Linked DNA regions of Homo sapiens: all the other regions are linked to region 1. The links are contacts of gene promoters, found by promoter capture Hi-C in human tissues and cell types (Jung and others, 2019). All regions are on one chromosome and are shown on one strand. Each heading gives the region's core, a stretch centred on a gene start or on the middle of the fragment in contact. The rest is flanking DNA. Distances are from core to core; before and after follow the strand shown. Region 1 holds the start of EPHA7 (EPH receptor A7). Region 2 overlaps EPHA7 (EPH receptor A7). Region 3 overlaps EPHA7 (EPH receptor A7).

What was found. Contacts are between HindIII fragments. The study calls those that stand out against the background at their distance.
Region 2: a fragment that was not itself captured here is called in contact with the fragment with the promoter of EPHA7 in region 1 in 2 of the 25 tissues and cell types used here (heart left ventricle and hippocampus).
Region 3: a fragment that was not itself captured here is called in contact with the fragment with the promoter of EPHA7 in region 1 in 2 of the 25 tissues and cell types used here (dorsolateral prefrontal cortex and mesenchymal stem cells).

The regions. Positions count from the first base shown.
Region 1 is chr6:93,417,730-93,422,029 of GRCh38, reverse strand. It overlaps EPHA7 (EPH receptor A7), which reads left to right and starts at 2,471. Exons shown (of 17, transcript NM_004440.4): 1 at 2,471-2,785. The coding sequence starts at 2,689. RefSeq lists a silencer at 2,224-2,423. The HindIII fragment of the contact is 11,378 bases long and covers 515-4,300 here.
Region 2 is chr6:93,347,546-93,351,428 of GRCh38, reverse strand. The region is part of intron 5 of EPHA7 (EPH receptor A7); the gene reads left to right. Among named protein-coding and RNA genes, the nearest start is that of EPHA7, 70 kb to the left of the region's middle. The HindIII fragment of the contact is 4,485 bases long and covers 1-3,574 here.
Region 3 is chr6:93,305,629-93,309,559 of GRCh38, reverse strand. The region is part of intron 5 of EPHA7 (EPH receptor A7); the gene reads left to right. Among named protein-coding and RNA genes, the nearest start is that of EPHA7, 110 kb to the left of the region's middle. The HindIII fragment of the contact is 6,151 bases long and covers 1-3,931 here.

The DNA.
Region 1 (4,300 bases), core at 1,222-3,721:
AGAAAGTTTTGTATACTGATAATTTTTATGTCAGTGGCTTCATGTACAAATAGGTCTATATGCTTTATCATTAGTCAAATACAGTCGAGTGTAAATTTATATATTAATCATATACTGTATGCTGAACACTGTCTTCTTGACTGTCATTTATTTTTATTTAAATGCTCCGAATTCTTTGTCAATATATCTAGATACTACAAAAGAAAGAAGAGAAGTTTGAAAAACCTAAAAATCAGTATCACTGTGCAGCTATGCAGGGAGAACTGTCAGCAGCCTGGCACATGTGCATTTAATGTGAAGCTTCTTGTCTCTAAAAATAAGAGTAAAGTTACACATGCCCCTGTGTCTGACAGAGAGAAGGGACACAAAAAGAGGACTCACTATACCACCTACACTCATCAGAGGAGTGAAGGATGTTACTTCTTTGGTTTCCTGGTTTTAATGGAAAAGTATTTGTATTCACATCATTGAGTATTAGTCATTCAATAGATGAAAGGAATATTTTAAACTTTAAAGGCCACCTTGGTGTCATTTTAAGAAGTGGGGATGAGACCCTGGGGAAAGTGTTGAAATCCTGGAGAATTCGTTTTAACTATTAGAAGTGGTTTAATATTTGTAAGTTTGTAGTTCTGTGAGTTCTAAAGACTAAGTGCAGGGATTTATGTTTTTAACTCTTATGTTTTAGTTTACAAGTTTCATCCTTAAATCATCTATTTGTGTAAATAAAGCTTCATCTCCTCTATAACAAGTGTGTTCTCCCCATATTTTTTTTTGTCTCTTTCTAAGGTTAATCTATTACGCATTTACATTTTCTATGCATCCTTTAAGGGACACTGAAGATGCTTTTTGATACACTTTCTAAAATATTAAATAGGCATAATGGCTAGGAATATGTAACATTGAAGAAATGTTTCAGAAACTACAGAATCAAAGAGGTTTAAAGAATAAATTTCATATCTCTCTTCCATGTTATTTTATTAGGCAAATAAAAACTACAGGAGACAATTTAACATAAAATACAAATAAATATCTGGGGGTTGTCATCTTAGAGAACTCCCTACTATAAAAAGCAGAAACAACTCAATTTACTTTATATTTCCAGATAGAAAGGTTGGAAAAAGTTTGGAGCCTTATGTGAGATCAAACTTTGGATCTATCGGAAATAAAAGGAAATCATAAATGACTGAGAAATATTTTTAAAGGAAGAAATTATAGGACAAAAAAAGAAATTCATCTTAAACATGTGATCAAGTTACTCTGTGTGACCTTTGAAATTGAAGATTTGGCAATTAAAATTTTAAAGTTCTTCCTCTTATTACCTACCTCTTGAATACAAAGTGTCCGAAACTGCCTAATGGAAAACAGATTTCTCTACGCAGCCTTCCTTGCCGTTCGGGTTGAATGAATTCAACTGGAGATATTGGTTATGACTTTTTTTATTCTTAGTTTCTCTTTGAAAGATAAGCATTGAATAATTCCTGAAAATGGTAAATACTTGCGAAGAGAAAGGTCTTGCTTTATGAATTTAATACGTAGTGGCATTCTTTAAAATTCAGTGTAATTTATGCAGCGAAATGGAAAACTATCAAAGTGGAGGCAATCCAAGGAAAACCTTAGAAAATGATAAACGCGTAAAAAAACGATACGCAACCATCAGAAGGTTCTCTCCTAATGTCTCACTTCGCTCAACAAACTATGGTGAAAAGACAGGGCGGAGGAGAAGGGGCGCTTAAAACAAAAGACTTCCTTTCCCACTCCCTTTTCCTCTGTTTCTTTTGCCAGAGCTTGTTGCAAACTCTTGGAAACATTGTTTAAACATAATACACTTGGTTACTTTATTCTTTCAGGGATTGTGGTGGGTGGTACCTAAAACTGACGGCTCTTGGAGTAACAGAAAAAGAGAAGTAGAAACTTTTCAAAAAGGCAAAAAACAAAGTTACCCAGCCCGCGGAGGTTCTAACAACAAAAAAGTAAAACACACTTTACTTAAAGGCACAGCTCATTTCACTGTCCGGGCTCCGTGCTTGGTAGCTGAGAGAAGGCTTGCTTCGCCTCTGGTTTCTAAAAGATCGCGCGGAGTACAGCTATAGAAAAGAGTGTAAGTTGGGAGCGTTATTCTCGGATTTATTCTGCTACGCGAAAGCTGCGGTTGCTAAAAGCAGAGCGTCCAAAGCAGCACACACCTCGGCTACCATCCTCGTTCTCCTCTGAACATCCAGCGCGAGCTCAGAACCTGGAGGGAATCCTGGACCAGCAACCTGACTCCGCTCGGCACCGATTGGCTCCTGCCTCGGACCCCGCCCCCGTGGCCGGGGCGGCCATTTCGCCGGGACCCGCCCCTTGGCCCTGGGAATCGCCTCCTGGCAGGCCGGCTGTGCCTGCCACTCAGCCCGAGTGGCGGAGGCTCTCAGCTCGGAGCCCCGCCCCCTCCCCCCCTAATTGATATTATTGGAGTGTGGAGCAAGCGGCCGGTCTGCAGTCGGAGACTTGCAGGCAGCAAACACGGTGCGAGCGAACAGGAGTGGGGGGGAAATTAAAAAAAGCTAAACGTGGAGCAGCCGATCGGGGACCGAGAAGGGGAATCGATGCAAGGAGCACAATAAAACAAAAGCTACTTCGGAACAAACAGCATTTAAAAATCCACGACTCAAGATAACTGAAACCTAAAATAAAACCTGCTCATGCACCATGGTTTTTCAAACTCGGTACCCTTCATGGATTATTTTATGCTACATCTGGCTGCTCCGCTTTGCACACACAGGGGAGGCGCAGGCTGCGAAGGAAGGTAAGGTGATGGGAAAGCAAAGTTTGTTCTGACTTATTTATTTAGATGTCTACCTGCACAAGCCAGCTCGTCCGCGGCGCTGCCGGCCGCGCCTCCGGCGCCGGGCGACCCTCCCCCGCCGGCTCCCCGCCCCCTCACCGCTGAGGCCGCTCCTGGCGGACCAGCGAGCGCGAACCAGGGCTGTTCCGAGCCGCCTACAGCCCTGTGCCCGGAGCCGTCCATCCGACGGGTGCGGGATTTCTGGCGCGGGCAGTCTGGAGGGCGTGAGCAGCAACGGGGGTGGGGTGGGGTTGGAGGAACTGCCGGCGAGCTTATTTCTTAGTACCTCAGGCGGGTCACATCTCTCTCTAGCTCGGTCTTCCTTGTCTCCTTATTCGCCTTCTGTGGGAGCTGCGGCCAGAGTTGGGTTGGAGACTGGGAAATGCAGCCCCTACCGTCTCCGCCAGCCCGCCGGCGAGTGGCGGGAGCCCGGAGCCTTCCCAGAGGGACCGAGACTTCGATGAGCTCGGAAAGCTCGGGTTACTAATGAAGTGCTCACTGCGTCGGAGGCGGCGGCGCGGTCCTGCGGTTGGCGCTCGGCCGCCAGCACGGAACAATAACGCCGCGGAGGTGAAGCGCGGCGTGCGGCGCGCGACCCGAGGGCCGGGGATGTCTCCATTCAGCGCGCGCTGCGCGTCGGGCCCAGCGGTCATGGGGGCAGCGGCAGCCCAGCGGGCTTGGTCGGGCCGTGGAGGCAGGGGGCGGGCTGGAGCTGTGCAATTTGTAAGGATGCCGCCTGGGCGACTCAAAGTCCCCAATTATTTGCCCCATAGTGCAGCAATTGAGGAATCCGAGTGCCCAATCCTTGCCAAAGACCTGAACCCTGAGGGTTGGTTCTGGTAGGAGAAGGCAGGTTTTATTTGGCAAGCTGTTACAGATACGCCTGTATATGGTTATGTTTTCCTTCTTTGAACCTTTGACAGAAGGTAAAATACCTTTCGGTGCCTGTAGTTGGAGCTGGGGAAAAATAAACCCTGTCAATGGAAGTCTCTTGCTTTTGAGCAGTGTCACAATCCCATCCCCAACCCCCCTCATCCCGTCGCCCCCCTGGTCTTTCAGGCTGTGTATCTAAGTTTCATTTTTCGATCTGTTAAAAGCAGAAGAGAAATAATTACTTATTCCTGATGTGTAGAGGGAGAGGAATCTGTTATGAAATTTAGGTCATGGTGGTTATCGGGCGGGGTGTTGAGGGGACTTACATATAGGTCCTTGATTCATCTATTTCTGAAAACTTAGTGCACCTTTTCTTTATTCTCATCGTGCACTCCTCTTAGTTCGCTCAAGCCCCCCTCAAACCCGGCGCCAAATTCTAGTCCTTCTTTCAGCCTGACCTTCTGACCCCACTTTCCACATCTGCAACCTGTATAGATGCTGAACCCATTCAGAGAACCCCGTGCCTCCAAGCTGGCGGTTACGCGTTTGCAGAAGGACGGACATCTGCTAGAAACGCACGCTCATCCCCTCCAAAACCACATT
Region 2 (3,883 bases), core at 83-2,582, 69 kb after region 1:
TTGGGCTCCCCAGGAAGCAAATACTTATATGGAGATTAGCGTGCATGAGTTTTATTAGGAAGAATGTTTGGGATCAACACCATCAGAGAGAAGGGAAGCAAGCAGGACCAAGCAGAGCAGGGCTGAGCTGTGATGGGGTCTCATTGGAATCATCAGCCAACTCCATGGGGAGTGCTCTACCTGTAATGAACCCTCAGGTTGTCCCTAGGTGACAGTTTTATACGTCTATGTTGTCCAGACATGGGTTGCAGTTTTTCCTAGGAGTGAGCAAGGTGTTACTTTTCAGAAAGGAAATTCTAAATGAGGCAGGGAACTGAGGCCTGTTTTCTGGCAAATATCTCGGCAGCTGGGCAAATAATTTCTTCAGTGCTTTTCTAAGGAGAATGTGGGCAGCCCATTACAATATCCATTATAGAGGGTTAAATTATGCAAAAGAATAAGAGTGGCAGCATTCAGAGTGTGATTATGGAATAATGGTATGAACTGGATGAATAAAGATTTGTGGGAAAGATTACTGGGGAATTTTTATTTTTAGGAAAAGAATCTTTTCTGATAGACAGCGGGGAAACCGGAGTGTTTTTGAACAGGAAAGTAACAGATTGACCCTGGTTTAACTTAAACTTTTGTGTATCTTCCGCAGTACATTTCACATATTACATATAGTCGTTTGTTAAAAAAAAAAATTCCTGCCTAGTGTTACTGTGGAAAAAATGTGCAAAACATACAGTTTCTGAAAATATAAGAAAGCTTCAAAGAATCTGCCATCAGGGTGTGGAGACATCTCAACTATCTTCAAAGGTCTCTTTAGAGTCTCTCAAAAAGAATTATGTTTTATCCCCATCATCAATTTTGTTGTGTATGGATGAATGATCTATATGACACTCACTCAGATTATATTAAAATTTGAACTAAATTTGTGGAGTTGTTAAGACAAGAACTGATATCATTTTAAAAGTAAAATTTTGAGGGTTCGAATGACTTTACAAAGGTCACACGGTAAATTATATAGTGATGACCCAAATGATTGCAATCAAATACACTTCTTACCTCAAAATTATTGTTTATGCAATCTTACCATAGAGTGCTATCTTTAAAAATGTAGCTCCATAATCCATTACACGAGAAATTGCAGATTGGTTTAATGGTCAGTGATAAGAGCTGTTAAGTGAAAAGGAGACCTACTAAGAAGTGTTATTTCCTGAGAATATTAACAAATGTAATCTTTGTGGGATAGCATTGCTAAATATAGCATTTGCCTTCTCATTACTGTTTTATTATCTTTCTTCAAGAAACTTTAAAAATAGCCTTGCATATTTTAAACTGACCGACTTTCCTGTGTTTTTCAATGCCCAGATCTAATTTCTCAGCCAAAATAAAGGTTTGCGTCAGTATTCCCTTTACTTTGATTTGTAATGTTTATATAATGTACCAGATGAAATATAACCTGAGTCATGTGATATAACATTATACATAAGCAAAATTATCCCCAAAAAAGACAAAACCAACAATCATTTTCTTTATTTGTCAGAAGTAGCTTCACTCACATGAATTAATGTGACTCAACTGTGACTGTTTTCTCATAAATTAACGTAGATCGTCTCTTTTCAATGATTTAATGGACACACATCAAGTTATATGTCTTTTAATAAGTAAATTAATTCCATTTAAATTTGTATATTTTTATACTTGTTAGGAATATATAAGATTGATTTATATTTTAAAGGAACATGATATTGAGAAAATATATTTTCTTATTTTAGAACATTTATTGGTTATATAAAGTAATATTAAACACAGCATTCTCCACAGGGTGAAACAAGGCATAATTGTTTTATCACTAGGTTAAAAATATATAAATGCAAAAAACAGGAACCATTTTGTAGAGATAGTGTTATTGTTATTAAAACATACATTCATATGTACACCTATGCCGTCTGCAGCAGAGAATCAATCGAATAAATTTCCTTTAACAGTAAACTGTTCAAAATATGCATTTCTGTTACATTTAGACATTTTATAAACCTGAGGTATCCGAAAGTGCAGGATTTAGTCATTCTAATTCATGCCCTGCAGGGCATGACATTTTAGTAATTCATATGCTTTGCTTAAACAAGGAGTAACTTTAGACTGTTAGTGAAATTTATTTAAGTATTTTTGTGACACCATAAATATGAAAACATATATATATAGATACATTTACATTTTTATTTAGTGGCTGTAAGTTATTAAAACATACAAAAAGGATGATATTTTAGATAACTATTTTAATAAAATTTTAATTAGGTAACATACTACCATGTTGACATTAATACTAATAACCAGGATTTATGTAGTGCTTAGTATAAAACATGTTGATTCCTTTACACGTAAAGGCCCATATGTTTGCACAGTATCTTCACATTCCGAATTTATCATGTAAGTTTAAGAGAAAATTACATGTTTCTGTGATATGGTCTTATACTAAGTGTATCATATATTTGTAATATTCTTCACATATTAGTTGTGAAAAGTTTATCTTTCCTCTTAGGCTTCATTAGGGGAAAATGGCGGTACCTTTGATCATACTCTCTAGCCCCATCAACATATTGGGCCCAGGGTAGATGGTTAGTAAATATTTGTTGGCTGAGTACATAAATTCTTTGTATACTGTAATATGCAAAGAAAATTTCTTAGACTATCTAGGTTGTTACAGAAGACATTAATTTAATTCAAATGATATAATGTTATTTAAATTATGCAATGAGTACATAAGTTAATAATTTCAAGTATAGTCATTTTGCAATTTGGTCCTAAAACTGTAAATATATTTAAAATCTTAAACTGTTTACAGCCATAATGTGGTATTTACACAGGAATTTTAAACAAAAGCTTAACCTTCTTATAAAATATTAAAGGTACAAATAAACCTTAACTTTGAAAACTTTCGTAATGCTTCATATTTTGAAAGCTTGTTGAAAATATAATTAATTTATATCTTTTATATAACATTGAATATGTAGAAGCACAGAGATCAGGATTGGAGATGCTTTCTTTAGTACCTAGGAACATAATATCAGCTTTTCATACATTATTTTAATATTTTTTATAGTTTGGTATATTTAGGTTTTAATATTTTTGTATTTTTTTTGGTTTGGTGACAGCTTTAAGGCTACAGCACATCACTGTGCCATGACTCTTCTCAATTAAAACATACATAAGGAAATACCTCTAAGTAACCTGTGTTCTCATCCCCACACCCTAATCTTGCCACCTCAACTCCCTGATCTCCAGTCCCAGTATCTTTCTGAGTTGTCAAAACTATCCTTTTCTGATATGGTTAATATTTGTAATGAAATAGGCTTATGTTGAGGTTATGGTGACAAGTTGATCTGCATACTGTTTAATGGACATGCTCTTAGTAGACTCTTGAAAAAATCCTAGTATAGAGTGTTTTAAGTTGCGTCTCATATTTCCAATTTAATGCTTCTTTATCTTTTCTTAAATTATTTGATCTTTGAATTGCTACTTTGTAAATAATGATGTTTACATACTTGGGAAACAAGAGTTCATTTTTTGCAATAACCCAGTTATTCTACTGCTGTGATGGAATTGTGTCCCCTCAAAATTCCTATGCTGAAGCCCTAACCCCCAATGTAACTGTATACTTTCCTCCACACACACTGAGAAAGGCCATGTGAGCACATAGCAAGAAGATGGCCATCCCCAAGCCAGAAAGAGAGGCTTCAGCAGAAACTGAAATCTGTTGGACCTTGACTTGGGACTTCTAGCCCTCAGAACTGTGAGAAAACAAATTTCAATTTAAGCCCCTCAGTCTGTGGTATTTTCTTATAGCAACAAATGCAGACTAATACTCATCCCTGAGATAATTTAATTCCATCCTGAA
Region 3 (3,931 bases), core at 858-3,357, 110 kb after region 1:
TTGGGCAACAGATACTTTTTGCAATGTTTAATTAAAAATGAAAATGTCTTTATAAGTCATTATTTTATATCAAGTTGAGCTTTTTAATTATGATTATAAGTGCTGAAAAAAAAATTGTGCCCAAAAATATTTTAGAACTTGGATGACTACAATAATTTCTTCATATCAGCATTTCATATGGTAAAATATATGTATAGAACATTTTGAAAGTAGCCTTCATAACATGAAGAATTTCAGAAATAAAGTCTTATTTATATGCTGCTTTTAAAAGAAAAGACATCTCTGAAATGTATTTGTTAAAAGATGTTTGAGGCTGGGTGCGGTGGCTCACGCCTGCAATCCCAGCCCTTTGGGAGGCTAAGGCGGGCAGATCACCTGAAGTCAGGAGTTTGAGACCAGCCCCACAAACATGGTGAAACCCTGTCTCTACTAAATACAAAACAAATAGCTGGGCATGGTGACACATGCCTGTAATCCCAGCTACTCAGGAGGCTGAGGAAGGAGAATCACTTGAACCCGGGAGGTGGAGGTTGCAGTGAGCGGAGATCATGCCATTGCACTCCAGCCTGGGCGACAGAGCAAGACTCTGTAGTTTAAAAAAAAAAAAAAAGTTTGAATTATTTGTAAGTAATTGTCAAACTAGTTGGGGCTTTTAAAATCTACACATAGGTAGTCAGCTAGCTATCTTAACTATATAGCTTAACACCTATGTGCAGAGGTTAGAGCCCTAATCTAAAAGCCATTAGGAATGATGCCTTTAAAAATGTGGTATTTATATAGGACTGGGAAATGTTGAACCTACATTTCTCTGCTGTGGATTCACTTAGTATGTTAGTATATTCCTAACTAGCTATTAACTCTTAACTATATAGTTGAATACCTATGTGTAGATTTTAAAAGTCCCAACTAGTTTGACAATTATTTATAAATAATTCAAACATCTTTTAACAAATAAATTTCAAATATATCTTTTCTTTGAAAATAAACACGTAAGTAAGATGTTGTTTCCTTTCTGTGTACATCTCAGAAAGGGATATACTAACATATTAAGTGAATCTTACAGCAGAGAAATTTAGGTCCAACATTTCCCAGTCCTACATACACACCACATGTTTAAAGATATCATTCCTAATGGCTTTTAGATCAAACTCTAAAAAAAGTAAATAAATAAAGTAGTGCTTCTAATTGTAACAGCAAAAAATAATAAGATATATTTTCCTTTGGTATAATGTAATCTATTCTACAGTAGCCAGAGCAGGTGTTGAAAAGCCTGTGTACTCCAATCATCAAACCACAGAGAAAAAATCCTAGTATCCCGAGCAAGAGGGGATGCTGACAGTTAGAGCCTGAGACAGTTTGAATTATCATGTAAGCATGTCACTCGAGTGATTAAACCTCAAAAGATTAAAAATGGTCAGCATCTCATGAGATACAAAGAATATGCTTTCTGTTTGGACAGTGCCAGTTTTCGGTGACTGATTATTGTTAGCTTTTTCTGCACACTAGCATTTCTCCCAGCCTACACCCTGCACCAAGAGCACAGCAACTCAGGATCATATTCTCTCTTTATTCTGATAGTGATGACATCTGAACAAAAGTGCACAAATCCATATTCATCGGGAAAAAGTCTTGATATTTGAGAACTAAGTAGATATTGTTTACTACTTTCACTATTTTTGAGTAACCATAGAAGTTACTCTCATTATTACTAAATCTTCCTGGTTTCTCCCAAGCTCAACGTATGGATGAGTAGTAGTACTATCCTCAAAATGAAGAGGACAGTACATGTTTATCCACTCATTAGGGAATTAAAACATAAGCATAATGATTGGTCTGTATGAATATGTAATATATGTGCATACATATCTTACCATATTTATTTTTTCCACTGTCTACTAACTACTTAATCTGAATGTCATAAGATTTAATCTGTATTAGTCAGCCTAAGGGGAGTGCAAATAAACTTGGCTCAGAATTGCATGCTTTACAGTGTAAAACTTAGAAATTATTTTTTAGTTTTCATTGAATAGATTCAATCCTTAGAATCTGTCTATTTTGGGAAGAAAAAAGTGGGATTACATCCTTCTTTTTATTTTCCACAATACCTATTCTTTAAAGGATTGTGGAAATGGTTTAGCCCAGAGTAAGCTAGAAATCACTGCATAGGGCTTATTCAATGTGTTATCAGTGTCAGAACAACTTTTACCTAAATACATTCAAAGCTTTCTTATCTTTCATTTATTTCTGTTAAATGATGTGGACAGTGTCTTTTAACTAGAATTTTGTATTTATGTTTGCTATCATGGTGAATTTTTTTTTCTTTTTGGTACCACATATTGTCACATTGGTTGATTTTCTAAAAAAATACAGAATATCTAACATTTGGTTGATGCAATAATTGGTATCATTATTTAAATATTCTTTATAAAGAGATGCAGTTTAGATGGGTTTGATAATTTATAGACTGAATTTATTTTTATTAGCAGTTATGTTTAAGTCCTGTATTCAAATATTATAATTATACTTCTTTTATGCAATAGTATTATATTATGATTTAATGGAGATATGAGCAATTCTAAATGTGTCAATCCCCTATGATATTTTCTGTTAAAATTAATTATAATTGCTACTAAAATGTAGAATTTATTTGATCCATCTTCATAAAGAGAGTTTTTTTCTCCTTCTAGAGGGAATTGATTTATTTCACATGATGACCAAAACTAAGCATTCTTACAATAGGTCATAATTCGGTTCAAATTGTAGCATAGTGAAAATAAAACTGAGGGATGATTGTCTAATGCTTTGGAAAGTTAATTTGATTATTTTTATAGGAGATGTATTATTTACACATTTCATGATAAATATTGATTTGAACTGCACATGGGATTTAGTTTAGAAATCAGGAAAAGTGAAAGCAACTGACTTAAACTGAACATTTTATTAAACATTGGAATTTGTTTTACATTAAAATGTATATTTAGTTCAGTATAACATAGTTTACATGAAATATGACCTAGCTTTATTTAGGTCTTTGTTTTACTCTGAGTCCTTTGGTTTTGTCATTTTTAAGTCCATCATACTGTGCCATGCACACACATTTGTGGGATTGGCTAGTTCAAAAGAAATTATTTGCTTTAATTAATCCATTTGGATATTTAAGAAATATATTCCTAAAACTTTTTAGTACTTTGTGCAAACATGATTCTTGGCAAATTCCCTGAGGACATTTTTTTATATTTTCACCCCAACAGAAGCTAACATTATTGTACCCTTATCATATTAAGTGAGATAAAATGTAAACTTCTCAATACATTCTCTGGCCTATCAGCAAAATAAAAAGTCATTCAACTGGGATTTCGGGAGACTTTATAAAAGCAGAGAAAAATTGTAGGCCACTTACAAAATTCTGCAGTCAAATTATATTTTAAAAAATCCATCTAGAGTTAGAGACATGTTTGGACTAATTTAGTTCAAGTAAGTATGATTCTTGCATAAATAGTGATTTTCACACTGCCCTTTTTTATGTAAAAATATTAACAAGTATTTCTGCTTTTTAGACCAAAATAAATTATATTCCGATATTTTATTATGATATCCATTGTATAGACTGATTTATTTTAAAGCCAGGAGTTTCTAGGTAAGTACTGAATATCTCTTAATGAGAATAATAGTGACTATATAAAATACTATTATATCTGTGTGACCATGCAGGTTATATGACAACAAAGAAGAAACTTAAATTTTTTTTATTTTCTTCTGACAGATAAGTTTGCAAAGGTGGCTCTAGTAGAGGTATTGACAGTAGCAAACAAAAAAATCTATTCCCGTAGGTAATGAAATAAATTAATTACTTATGGTTTTCATTTACTAGGTAGTTTAGTCTGTATTATTTTCACAGTAACCTCAATATGTCTAGTAAGTCTAAATAAAC